2 separate regions of the Homo sapiens genome follow, and region 2 is linked to region 1. Evidence: promoter capture Hi-C in human tissues and cell types (Jung and others, 2019). All regions are on one chromosome and are shown on one strand. The core of a region is centred on a gene start or on the middle of the fragment in contact, and the rest is flanking DNA. Distances in the headings are between cores, read along the strand shown. Region 1 holds the start of ZNF699 (zinc finger protein 699). Region 2 has its middle 8.2 kb from the start of OR7E24.

What was found. The method cuts DNA at HindIII sites, captures the fragments that hold promoters and counts their contacts. A contact is called where the count stands out against the background at its distance.
Region 2: a contact is called between a fragment that was not itself captured here and the fragment with the promoter of ZNF699 in region 1, in 3 of the 25 tissues and cell types used here (mesendoderm cells, pancreas and thymus).

Annotation. Positions count from the first base shown.
Region 1 is chr19:9,306,414-9,313,213 of GRCh38, forward strand. It overlaps ZNF699 (zinc finger protein 699), which reads right to left and starts at 3,425. Exons shown (of 6, transcript NM_198535.3): 1 at 2,937-3,425. RefSeq lists silencers at 3,095-3,344, 5,700-5,994 and an enhancer at 3,405-3,524. The HindIII fragment of the contact is 17,114 bases long and covers 1-6,800 here.
Region 2 is chr19:9,239,350-9,246,149 of GRCh38, forward strand. It overlaps a transcript of OR7E24 not described here. Among named protein-coding and RNA genes, the nearest start is that of OR7E24, 8.2 kb to the right of the region's middle. The HindIII fragment of the contact is 9,125 bases long and covers 1-6,800 here.

The DNA of each region.
Region 1 (6,800 bases), core at 2,175-4,674:
TGTGTCAGCCCTGATGTGGTATCTGCAGTGCTGTTTCACAAATTTCAAACAACGACATGTTAACAGTTACTTCCACTGCAGTGGAACAAGTAGCATTTTAAAAAGCCAATAAAAAACTGTAACATTCTTTGCTGTATTAGTAACAATATATGCCATCTGGACAACCCTGATGTGAGAATGACTTTGCAAAGAAATGGCCACATTTTAGAATATTTCTCACAGAAGCTCTGCAAATCAAATATTATTACAACCAGTTTAGAATTATCTTAGAATGAGTCAATTAACCACATCTTCAATATTACCCAATTAGACAGCTGCTGAGGCAGGGTATGAATGCAGGCCTATTTGTCTTCAAAACCCAAACACCCAGTGAGTACATTTTTGAACACATACCTTAAATTTTAATTGTTTTTAAGCCCCTTATTCCCTAGTTTTACCAGGATTTAGCCTAGAACCCTATTGGGCACTACAGAGAGTGGACAAATGAAGCATTCTAATCAAATATGCTGTGCGTGGTAGCTCATGCTTGTAATCCCAGCACTTTGGGAGACCAAGGTCGGGGGAATCACATGAGGTCAGGAGTTCAAGACCAGCCTGGCCAAAATGGCGAAACCCTGTCTCTACTAAAACTACAAAAATCAGCCGGGCATGGTGGCGCACAGCTGTAGTCCCAGCTACTCAGGAGGCTGAGGCAGGAGAATTGTGTGAACTCAGGAGGCAGAGGTTGCAGTAAGCCGAAATCACACCACTGCACTCCAGCCTGGGCAACAGAGCCAGACTCTGTCTCAAAATAAATAAAATAAATAAATAATCAAATATGTTATCTTTGAGCTCCTTTTCCTAAGGCCTATGTCTTGGGCAACGATGCTTCCCTTATAGCCCTTACCTCCTTCGTTTCATGTTTATTTAGGTGACATTTATCCTGACCCTACTACATGAAGTCACAAGGAATAAGGCATAGAAAAATAAAAAAGAAAAATCCTGAAGCAAATGAATGTTATAATATTTTGGGTAAGACATTAAACAAAATACATCAGGTAGAGATACATGCTATATAAAAAATGTAGCACATTATAGGGATAAGGAGACACGTAACATATTTATCTTTAGCAAGTCAGGACAGGTAATGTGGCAGGGTAGAAGCAGAAAATTAAAATAACTATTTCAGATCATGCTGGAATTTCAGAGGGTTTAGTATATCTATTATATATTTATAAGCATTATCAACTCCTAGAGGAAAAAAAATCAGTACTGGCCAGGCACGGTGGCTCACACCTGTAATCCCAGCACTTTGGGAGGCCAAGGTGGGTGGATCACAAGGTCAGGAGTTCAAGACCAGCCTGGCCAAGATGGTGAAACCCACCTCTACTAAAAATACAAAAAAATTAGCTGGGCATGGTGGCAGGTGCCTGTAATCGCCACTACTTGGGAGGCTGAGGCAGAGAATTGTTTGAACCCAGGAGGCAGAGGTTGCAGTGAGCCAAGATCACGCCACTGCACTCCAGCCTGGGAGACACAGCGAGACTCTGTCTCAAAAAAAAAAAAAAAAATCGGTATTAATAGGCTAGACTATTGATATATAAAGTTGAATAAAGACCAGCATAAAAGTTTAGAAAGAAAATAGAAAATAATCTTTTTTAAAACATAGTAAACAAAATCAGAAAAGCTAAAAAAGCATCCTTTGCAAAAAGAAAAACTAATGAAACTGACAAACTCAGCTTTTTAAAAAAATTTTTTAATTTAATTTATTGTTTAAGACAGACTCTTTATGTTCCCAGGTTGATCTCATTTCCTAGGCTCAAGCGATCCATCTGCCTTAGCTTCCCACCAGCTGGGACTACAGATATGCGCCACTGCAGCCAGCAACAGACTCAGCAATTTTAAGAGCAACAGGGCATAAACAACAACAACAAAAAAAAAATGAACAAGAATTAATCATAATTACAGATATCATAAGGAGAATATAGAAAAAATTTAAGGAATAAATATGAAGATGCACAGGTAATTAATGAATTTCTAGAAAGTAGTACAACTTTCAAGCAGTGATCTAAAACCTGATTACACCCAGTAATTAAAGAAAAAAAAATCAGCGGTTTAAAACACGGTCAGGCCGGGTGCAGTGGCTCATGCCTGTAATTCCAGCACTTTGGGAGGCGGAGAGCCCATGAGTTCGAGACCTGCCCGGGCAACAGAGCGAGACTCCTATTTTCTAAAAAGAAATAGGAATAAAGAAAGGAAAAAAACCTACAAACACCTACAGCAAACATCCTATTTAATGGTGAAATGATAGAATAATTCCCTCTGGAATCAGAAACAAGACAGGATGTAAATTACATGCTATTCTGTCGGACATTGTACTGGAGGTCCTGGCAAGTGCAGTAAAGAAATGAAAAGAAATGGAAACTGCAAGGAATAAAAAGGGAAAAGATTGAAACTGACAGATGACCAAATTTTCTGTGTGAAATTTAACCAATCTATAGACAAATGATTCAAATGCATCATTAATGACAAAATGCATCAGTTCACTTTCACTTGAATATAATGTATCAAACTGATGTCCACAGGCAGAATATAATATCCAGAGACCAAATACTATCTTTTTGTTTTTTTGAGACAGTGTCTCGCTCTGTTGCCCAGGCTGGAGTGCAGTGATGCGATCTCAGCTCACTGCAACCTCTGCCTCCCGAGTAGCTGGGAACACAGGAGAGCACCTTTTATTTTACTTTTTTTTTTTTTTTTTTTTTTGGTAGAGACGGGATCTTGCTATGTTGCCCAGGCTGGCCTCAAACTCCTGGGCTCAAGCGATCCGCCCGCCTCGGCCGCCCAAAGTGCTGGGATTACAGGCGTGAACCACCGCGCTTGGCCCAAACACTACCTAATGCATAAAGAGGGGACAGGAGGGGACCGAGCCGAGGCAAATGTCACCCCGTGCTCACCCGACACGCCGCGATCCACAGATCAGCTCACAGAGAACGAGGCTGAAGCGCTTGTCCTTGAGACACGAATGGCAGAGATGCTCTTCCTTTCTGGAAAGAGAGCAAAGGATGCTTTCGGAGGCTGATGAACTACGACATTGGTTCTCCAACTCTCGCCTGCATCAGAATCACCCCGATTTCTGTACCCAGACCAGAGTTCCCGATTCAGTGAGTTTGGGACCAGCCGCGGCCACAGGGGCAGCTGACCCGGGCTCTCTGAGGAGGCGCCGCGGCGGCGGGAGGCCCCGGGCGCGGGGTCCGGACAAGGAGTGGCGGGGAGGCAGCCCTTAGACCGCCGATTCCCAAACCCAGCCCTCGGTCTCCCGCGGACCCGACCCGGGGCAGGCAGGGCGGGGCGGGGCAGGGCAGGACAGGAAGCGGGCGGAGGCAAAAATGTTCCTCAGACGCGGGCGGAGGCGTAGGGTGACAAGGCTGTCGACTCGCGCATGCGCAGAAGCACACTTCTGATTCCTCTTTCGGCGCTGCAAATGGCGTATGGGGCGGGGCCTGGGAAGCGGGACTTGAGGTGAAGGGGGTGGAGCAGGTAGGAGCGGGATGCAAAGGAGCGCCAAGGCTGGTTCCAGCCGCAAGTGGATGAGAAATCCTAGTTTCTTCATGATTTGGAGTAAACAGAGAAGAAACAGAACCCTGAACTGGACTTGCATGACTCGGCCTGAGGGGCGGAACTGGGGCTAGACCTAGGGGCGTGGCCTTTTAAATACTCCAAGGGGCGGGGCTAAAGGTGGAACCAGATTGGGAGCGGGGCTTGGTAGAAATTCCTAGGGGGCGGAGACGAGGGCTGGGCGGGGCTTAAGTGACAAGGCCTAGGGATGGGGCTAAGGCTAGGGCTTCCCATCCAGGTTCTCAGCTACCACGGATACAGGATGCTCATCGATCGGGTTTCTACCTATCCTCCACGTTGCTACAGTCCTGTACACAGGACACATATATTTGCAGCTCTAATAGGAAACAGACTCTCCTTGACACTCACTCAGTCCTTTTGGGCCTTTTAGTTTTCCCTTTCATTGTTGTATTGATAACTTCTCCTGTAGAGGGAAGCCATTGATAATTATTTAAATAGAACCTTTTTCCTGGAAACTTGCTGAATTCTGATAGCTGTCAGTTTATTATTTGAACCATCAAATATAAATATTTTCTCTGCATATTTTCATTGTTTTAATGTGTATAACTCATTTCTTTATGTGAGGCAATGTCTCATTCTATCGCCTAGACTGGAGTGCAGTGGCGCGACCATGGCTCACTGCAGCCTTGACTTCCCCAGCTCAAGTGATGGTCCCATCTCAGCCCCCCAAGTAGCTGAGAATACAGTCGCGTACCACCCCACCCAGCTATTTTCTTTATTTTTTTGTAGAGATGGGATCGCACTATGTTGCTGAAGCTGGTCTCAAACTCCTGAGCTCAAGCTATCCTCTCACCTCAGCCTCCCAGAGTGCTAGGGGTACAGGTGTAAGCCACCACACCCAGAGTCATTTCTTTTTCTTATTGTTTGTTTAGGGCTTCCTCAACTATAAGTCGGAAAGAAATTAAGCATTCTTGTCTTGGTCGGTAATGATTACCAAAGTTCCTCAGTAAGCTGTTTACAACAGGTTGCACCTCTTATCAAGTTAATCTTTTTAAACCAGGTTTATAAAGATATTTTATCAATAATTTTTTATGAACACTATCAAATGTTTATGCAACAATTGAGTTGATAACATAATTTTGCTCCTCTTAGTTTATAATATGATATCCATATAAAATATTTAATTTTAGGCAAGGCGCAGTGGCTCATGCCTGTAATCCCAGCACTTTGGGAGGCCGAGGCCGGTGGATTACCTGAGGTCAGGTGTTCAAGACCAGCCTGGCTACCATGGTGAAACCCCATCTCTACTAAAAATACAAAAAATTAGCTGGGCATGGTGGCGGGTGCCTGTAATCCCAGCTACTCAGGAGGCTGAGGCAAGGAGAATCGCTTGAACCTGGGAGGCAGAGGTTGCAGTGAGCTGAGATCGCGCCATTGCACTCCAGCCTGGGCGACAATAGAAAGACTCCATCTCAAAAATATATATATTCAATTTTATATATCCCCAATGAATCTATACTTTTAGTAAAATGGTTTCTGAGTTTCCTAGTTTGCTTTTAAATGTCTCCCCAAACTCTAAAATATAAAAATACTTCCTAATTTACTTCCAAATTGTACTGCTTTTTAAAACGTATAATTCTTTACTGCTCAGGGAATGTATTTTGGTATAATATGAGGTAGAGATGTGTTATATAAGTGAACCACAGGTGGCCTTTCTGTATTGGTCCCTAGGTTGTTCATTACTTCTTCACTGCGGCTTGAGGTCACCTTCCCAATGCCTGTCCCTGGTGCCCTAGCCAGCTCCCTTTCATCATCTATGTTTTTTAAGTGTAAATCTTTTTCTATTATGAAGCATTATGTTCTCATTGTAGTTTTTTATTTTAAAGGAAAAGTATAAGGAAAAGACAAACAACATTCAGAATCCCAGCAGTGTTTGAATTTTCTGTATTTCCTTTCTGCCTTCTTTGTACGCGTGGGTGGCAAGCCACCCAGGTGCCAAGGCAAGAGACCGAGGGCACAAGCTGTTCCAGTATAATAAAGAAAATATATAGAATAAGAGTAGTTATACTAGAAATAGATTATAGATATGATTGTATATATCATTAATCATTTGTAGCATTACTCTTTATTCCAATATTATAATAATCTTTGTTCTACAATCATAACCTAGGAAAAACCAGGCCATACAGAGATAGGAGCTGAAGGGACATGGTGAGAAGTGACCAGAAGACAAGGGTGAGCCCTCTGTTATGCCTGGACAGAGCCACCAGAGGGCTCCCTGGTCTAGCGGTAATGCCAGCCCCTGGGAAGGAGCCCGTTACCTAGCGGACCTTGGTCTAGCAGTAGCGTCAGTGCCTGGGGAAGGCACCCATTGCTTAGCAGACAGGGAAAGGGAGTCTCCCTTTCCCCGGGGGAGTTAGAGAAGACTCTGCTCACTACCTCTTGCGGAAAGCCTGACATCAGTCAGGCCCGCCCGCAGCCATCCAGAGGCCTAAACGTCTCCCTGTGATGCCGTGCTTCAGTGGTCACACTCCTGGTCCACTTTCATGTTCCACCCTGTACACCTGGTTCTGCCTTCTAATCAGCAGTAGCGGAATTAGTGAAAGTACTAAAGTCTTTGAAATGCATAGAAGAAATAATGGCGTAAGCTGTCCTCTCTCTCTCTCCACCTCAGCTGCCAAACAGGGAAGGGCCCCCTGTCTGGTGGACACGTGACTCGCGTGACCTTACCTATCATTGGAGATGGCTCACACTCCTTACCCTCCCTCCTTGTCTTGTATCCAATAAATAACAGTGCAGCCAGGCATTCGGGGCCGCTACTGGTCTCTGCACCTTGGTGGTAGTGGTTCCCCGGACCCAGCTGTCTTTTTGTCTATCTCTTTGTCTTGTGTCTTTATTTCTATGATCTCTTGTCTCCACACACGAAGAGAAAAACCCACAGACCCAGTAGGGCTGCTTCCTACAGTACGCATAACAGTAGGTTTTTTTATTGTTTGTTTGTTTTTGACTCAGTCTCGCTCTGTCGCCCAGGCCGGAGTGCAGTGGTGCAATCTCAGCTCATTGCAACCTTCACCTCCTGGGTTCAAACAATCCTCCTGCCTCAGCCTCCCGAGTAGCTGGGATTACAGGCATGTGCCACAACACCCGGCTAATTCTGTATTTTTAGTAGAGATGGAGTTTCTCCATGTTGGTCAGGCTGGTCTCGAACTCCTGACCTCAGGTGATCCACCTGCCTTGACCTC
Region 2 (6,800 bases), core at 1,651-4,150, 68 kb before region 1:
TTTTAGTAGAGACGGGGCTTCACCGTGTTAGCCAGGATGGTCTTGATCTCCTGACCCCGTGATCCATCCACCTTGGCCTCCCAAAGTGCTGGGATTACAGGCTGAGCCACCGCACATGGCCAACAGTTCAACTTCTTGATAACAGCATTCTAACACGTACAAGGTGATATGTCATTGAGGTTTGAATTTGCATTCCTGAAGATTTGTGAAGCTGAGTGTTTTTTCATATACCTGTTAATTTGCATGCCTTCTTTCTAGTAATGTCTATTCAGATCCTTTGTCTATTTTCCAATCAGGTTGTTTTCTCACAATTGAGTTGCATTTCATACAGTCTTAATATTCTTTCTTTTTCTTTTTCTTTTTTTTTTTTTTTTTTTGAGTTGGAGTCTCGCTCTGTTGCCCAGGCTGGAGTGCAGTGGTGCAATCTGGGCTCACTGCAACCTCCGCCTCCCAGCTTCAAGCAATTCTCCTGTCTCAGCCTCCTGAGTAGCTGGGATTACAGGCACATGCCACAGTGCCCGGCAAATTTTTGTATTTTTAATAGAGATGGGGTTTCACCATATTGGTCAGGCTGGTCTCGAACTGACCTCAAGTGATACACCCGCCTTGGCCTCCCAAAGTGCTGGGATTACAGGCATGAGCCACTGTGCCTGGCCTGAATATTCCCTCTTGAATAGGTCGTTTTTTCTTTTTTAAAATTTAGTCGAGATGGGGTCTCCCTAGGTGGCCCAGTCTGGTCTCAAACTCCTGGGCTCAAGTGATCCTCCTGCCTTGGCCTCTCCAAAGTGCTGGGTTTACAGGCCTGAGCCACCACACCAGGCCCCCTCTTTAATTTTGCAATTGTATTCTCCCATTCCATAGGATGTCTCTTCACTCTATAGATTGTTTCTTTTGCTGTGTGGGAACTTTTTAGCCTGATGCAATCTCATTTTTCTGTTTTTGCCTTTGTTGCTTGTGTTTTGGGTTCTTATCCAAAAAATCATTGCCCAGTGTAATTTCATGGAGGATTATTCCTATGTTTTCTTTTAGTGGTTTTGCATTTTCAGGTTTACTGAGACCTGAGATGAGGAGCTAATTTCATTCCTCTGCATGTGGTTTTCCAGTTTTCCCAGCACCATTTATGGAAGAGACTGTCCTTTCCCCACTGTGTGTTCTCGGCATCTTTGTCAAAAAATGATTTGCCATAAATTCATTGATTCATTTCTGCACCACCTCTTCTGTTCCATTGTCCTTTGTATCTGTGTTTCTATTGGTACCATGCTCCATTTTCTTAACAGAACATTTTGATAGAGAAAAGTTTTAAAATTTGATGAAGTTCAATATATCTATTTTTTTGTTTTGTTACTCATGCTTTCACTGTTGTATCTAACAATCTGCTTCCAAATAAAGTGTAATCAAGATATTCCTGTATGTTTTTTTCTAAGAGTTTTATGATTTTAGCTACATTATATTTAAGCTATTGACTTTTTATTTATTTATTTATTTTGAGACACAGTCTCTCTCTGTCACCCAGGCTGGAGTGCAGAGGTGTGATCTCGGCTCTCTGCAACCTCTGCCTCCCGGGTTCAAGTGATTCTCCTGCCTCAGCCTCCCAGGTAGCTGGGATTACAGGTGCCCGCCACCACGCCTGGCTAATTTTTGTATTTTTGATGGAGATGGGGTTTCACATGTTAGTCAGGCCGGTCTTGAACTCCTGACCTCAAGTGATCCACCCGCCTCGGCCACCCAAATGCTGGGATTACAGGCATGAGCCATTGCGCCAGGCCTGTTGATCTGTTTTTTATTTGATTTGATTTTTGTACATGGCAGAAAGTAGGGTTCAATCTACTTTCCTTTGCATCGAGTTTGTTCTTGGAAGGGTTTAGTTTGTTGTGCTGTGAAACACCTTATTAATAACATCCACTTGGCAGCAGAATGTGTTAGCCTAGGGTTCAATCTGTCTAAGTGGTGGTTGTCAGAGAGATCATTGGGTTTATAAAAAGGTCACAAAGGCAAGATTATGTTTGACAGAGCCCTGCTCATGAACATTCAGTTCCTCAGCAGACCAGCCTCTTGTCCATGACAGATCAAGGTCTCAGAACTAAGTGGATGTTGTAGGTCCATTAGGCAAATGTGAATTTAAATATCCCGGCTCGACCAGGCTTGGTGGCTCATGCTTGTAATCCCAGCACTTTGGGGGCTGAGGTGGGTGGATCACTTGAGGTCACGAGTTCAAGACCAGCCTGGCCAATGTGGTGAAACCCCATCTCTGCTAAAAATGCAAAATTAGCTGGGTGTGGTGGTGGGTGCCTGTAATCTCAGCTACTTGGGAGACTGAGGCAGGAGAATTGCTTGAATCTGGGAGGTAGAGGTTGCAGTGAGCTGAGATTGCGCCATTGCATTCCAGCCTGGGCGACAGAGTGAGACTTTGTCTCAAAAACAACAACTACAAAACTAAAAGAAAACAAGAAATAAATATCCTGGCTCTTTTTCTCCTGAAAATCACATGCTTCATTTTTACTCTTCCCAAAACACTTGTGATTTGGCTTTTGCTACATGTTTTTACTTTAGGTTCTCTCAGTAACTCCCTTGGTAATTTCCTTCTAACTTTTCCGTTTTATATACAGTCTTTAAAGTTCCATCTTTGGTCCATTTTCTTAGAGCCACTCTTGAGAGTTCTCACGTGTTGTTTGAAACACTTATCATATCGAGTGCTGATATGATGACATGCTTTCCTCAAAAATTACCCATTTGCATGTTAGCACCCTTCACCTAAACTTGGTTGTGTTCTTGTTTCCTCTGGAAGAAATTGGATGAAAATCATACAATAGTCAAGGCAACGTGTTTCCCTTTTAGGATTGTGCTTGTTGCTTTACATGTATGGCTTTATTTAATCCTGAAAACATTTCTTTCTTTTTGTTTTTGTTTTGTTTTGTTTTGAGACACAGTTTCACTCTGTCACCCAGGCTGGAGTGCCATGGCGCTATCTCAGCCCACGGCAACCACCTCCCGGGTTCAAGCAATTCTTGTGTCTCAGCCTCCCAAGTAGCTGGAATTATAAGTGTGCACCACCACACCTGGCTAATTTTTTTTGTATTTTTAGTAGAGATGGGGTTTTGCCATGTTGGCCAGGCTGATCTCAAACTCCTGACCTCAAGTGATCCACCTGCCTCGGCCTCCCAAAGTGCTGGGATTATAGGCATGAGCCACCACAGTTGGCCCTGAAAACATTTCTTTGACATGTCTTTTCTCATTCACCTTGTTCCACAAAGGAAGAAGCAGATAGAGGTGAACTATAACCTGGCAACTTGACGTTGAGACCACACTCCAACTTTGCTATCCTTTATTTCATAAGAACAGTGATGTGATTTTTCACATCAAATTAGGAATGTAGATTTGTAAGCTTGTTTGTTCTGATGATTCATAGTAATGAACTGCCTAGAATAACTGAGACGTTGCTTCCTTCTTTGTGATTATTCCTTTTCTTCCCTCCCTCCCTCCTTTTTTACTTTCTTCCTTTCCTCTTCTTTCTTCCCTCATTCCCTCCTCTTTCTTCCCTCATTCCCTCCTCTTTCTTCTCTCATTCCCTCCTTCCTTCTTGTCTTTCTTTCTTTCCTTCTTTATTTGACCTTTATTTCCCATAATTGCAGTTTTATGATCTAACCCCAGATTGTAGAACATGTAATAATTATACGATAGAAAAGATTTGTTCTCTCATATAGTTTAATTTTCTTCTGAGACTTTCTGGAGATGTCTTCAGGAATGGAAGCCACAGAATGTGGACTGTGTTTGGGATGCAGTTCACCCTTTTGATGAGAACTGGTAGAACTGGGTCTGCAGTGAAGGATGGGGTAGTAGATGGTGTCAGGGTTCATCCCACATCCCTAAGACCCTCCCGCCATCTCCACACACACCATCCTGTCTGCCAATGGTCAGCATCAGCTGAGGGATCCACTTTCCCCAATGCATGGTGGCAGAAAGGTAATGAATGCTTACAATTTTATGTTGCTCTGGCATTTTTTTTTTTTTTTTTGAGCCAGTGTCTCACAGTATTGTGCAGGCTGGAGTACAGTGGCTCACTGAAATCTTGAACTCCTGGGCTCAAGTGATCCTCCTCAGTCTCCCAAGTAGCTGGGACTACAGGCATGCATCATCACACCCAGTTAGGGGGTCTCTCTATGTGACTCAGGCTTGTCTTGAAATCCTGGCCTCAAACCAGGATTGGCCACCTTGGCTTCCTGAAGCACTGGGATTGTAGGTGTGAACCACTGCACCTGGCAGGCATCTATTTTGAATACAGGCTTAGCTTTCTGATGCTAGAGGCAGGGTTCCATTGCCTTTGACACAGTTTCCAATTCCACACCACCCTCAAATGGCTCAAGCTGGTGCAATTGTTGCTCCTTGCATCATCCTTTGAAAGTGCAAGTTGTAAAAGTTTATGGATTCACCTCAGAGGGTTTATCTGAGAAGTTGCCTCAAGCAGTTAGAAGATACAGCTTCCTGATGCAACTTCAGCTGCAGAGACCAGGGAAGGAGGGGAGGCCTTAGAGGCCTGAGACTTCTGCTGGCATCCTTCTCACCAGGCTGCCTCCTCCCGGGAGAGTCCCTCCTTCAGCCCCAGTCCCTGTGCAGGAGCCTGGTTTCTGGAAAAGGCCCCACAGCCTGGTGGACACAGACCCAATTCCAGTATCAGACCCATCAGTGACCACTGTGTTGGGATTCAACAGCCTCTCCAGACTGTGATTCTCACTGGCAAAATAAAAAATCTGTCTGTCTTTATTTGATCAGGAGTACTAAGGCTCCAATGAGACAGTGTATTTGAAAAACCTTGGGAATCCACTCTCCAAAGCCTAGCAGGTTTTGTTACTATTATCCAACTCAATGTACAATTCTAAGGTAAATTGAAAAAATGTATAAATCCATTAAAAAGAAAAGTTGAAGGTCTCACATTTCCTGGTTTCCAAATAAACTACAAAGATCCAGGAATTAAAACAGTGTGGTACTATAATACATAAAGACACATATACAGAAAAATGGAAGAGTAAAGAGAGCCCAGAAAGAAACTCTCACTTATATGGTCACATGATTTTCCACATGGGTGCCAAGAACATTCATTGGGAAAAAGACAGCCTTTTCAACAAACGGTGTAGGAAAAACTTGATTTCAAAATGCAGAAGAATGAAGGTGGGTTCTTACCTTACACCATATGCAAAAGTTAACACAAAATGGATCAAAGGCCTAAACCTAAATTCCAAACCTATAAAATTCTTAAAGAAAACATTGATCAATACCTTCATGACATTGGATTTGGTAATGATTTGATCAATACCTTCATGACACTGGATTTCTTAGTGATTTCTTGAATATGTCACCAAAAGCACAGACAACAATATATAGATAACTTGGACTACATCAAAATTAAAAAACCTTTGTAACTCAAAGGATATACTATCATCAGAGTCAAAAGTTAACCCAGGGAATAGGAAAATATATCTGTAAATCATATATATATGCTTAGAGGCTAACAACCAAACAATATTAAGAACTCCTACAACTCAGCAACCAAACAAATGCCCATTAAAAATGGGCAGAAGGCCAGGTGTGGTGGCTTACACCTATAATCCCAGCACTCTGGGAGGCCAAGGCGGGCAGATCACCTGAGGTCAGGAGTTCAAGACCAGCCTGGCCAACATGGTGAAACTCCGTTTCTAGTAAAAATACAAAAAAATACAAAAAAAATTAGCGGGCGGGTGGCCTGCACCTATAGTCCCAGCTACTCAGGAGGCTGAGTCACGAGAATCGCTTGAACCCGGGTGGTGAAGTTTGCAGTGAGCCAAGATCATGCCACTGCATTCCAGCCTGGGTGACAGAGCAAGACTCCGTCTCAATAAAGAAAAAAAAAAATTGGGCAGAGGACTTGAATAGACATTTCTCTAAAGAACATATGCAAATGGCCAATGAGCATACAAAATGATACCCAGCATCACTCATCAATAGGGGCATGCAAATAAAAATCACAATGAGATACCACCCAATAGGATGGCTATTAAGAACAAACAAGCAAAAAAACCTGTCGAGTTTTGGTGAAACTGTAGGGAAGGAGGAATGCTTACACAGGGCTATGGAAATGTAAAATGGTGCAGCAGTATGAAAATCCATATGATGGTTCCTCATAAAATGAAAAATAGAACTACCATAGGATGCTGCAAGTTCACTTCTGGGTGCATACTTAAAAGGATCGAAAACAGGGATTTGAACAGATATTTGTATAACCATGTGTGGAGGAAAAGTTAAATATTAAATTCGAACTCAATTGAACATGGACACAAACAATGGTCAGCAAGTCCTCGAATGGGTCGTGTGAGCCCCTTGAGGCGTTCATCCAGCGCTGTTTCGGAGAAATCTCTATTTCAATCTATTCCTATACATTAGTTATTGAAAAACAATAGACAATCACGAAAACGAGTTGACCTTTTTGCGTTCCTTGGGCCCAGTCGTGAAGGGCCCTCGTGACTGGGCCTCATGCCAAACAACTCATTACAAAAAGAGTTAGGGTCCCAGACTGCGCCAAAGCTTCAGGAGACCTCTCCTTGTCTGTGCACGGACTGGTGGCTGACTCTGGAGCCCAGACTGTTGCTGGTGAATCCTTCATAGTCTGGTGAGTGTGTATATATATATTTTTTTTTCGCTTCGGCGACTTCCCGTTGCAATTTGCTTATTATATCAATGTGCTTTTTTTTTTTTTTTTTTTTTTTTTTTTTTATGGAGTCTTGCTCTGTCTCCCAGGCTGGAGTGCAGTGGCGCGATCTCAGCTCACTGCA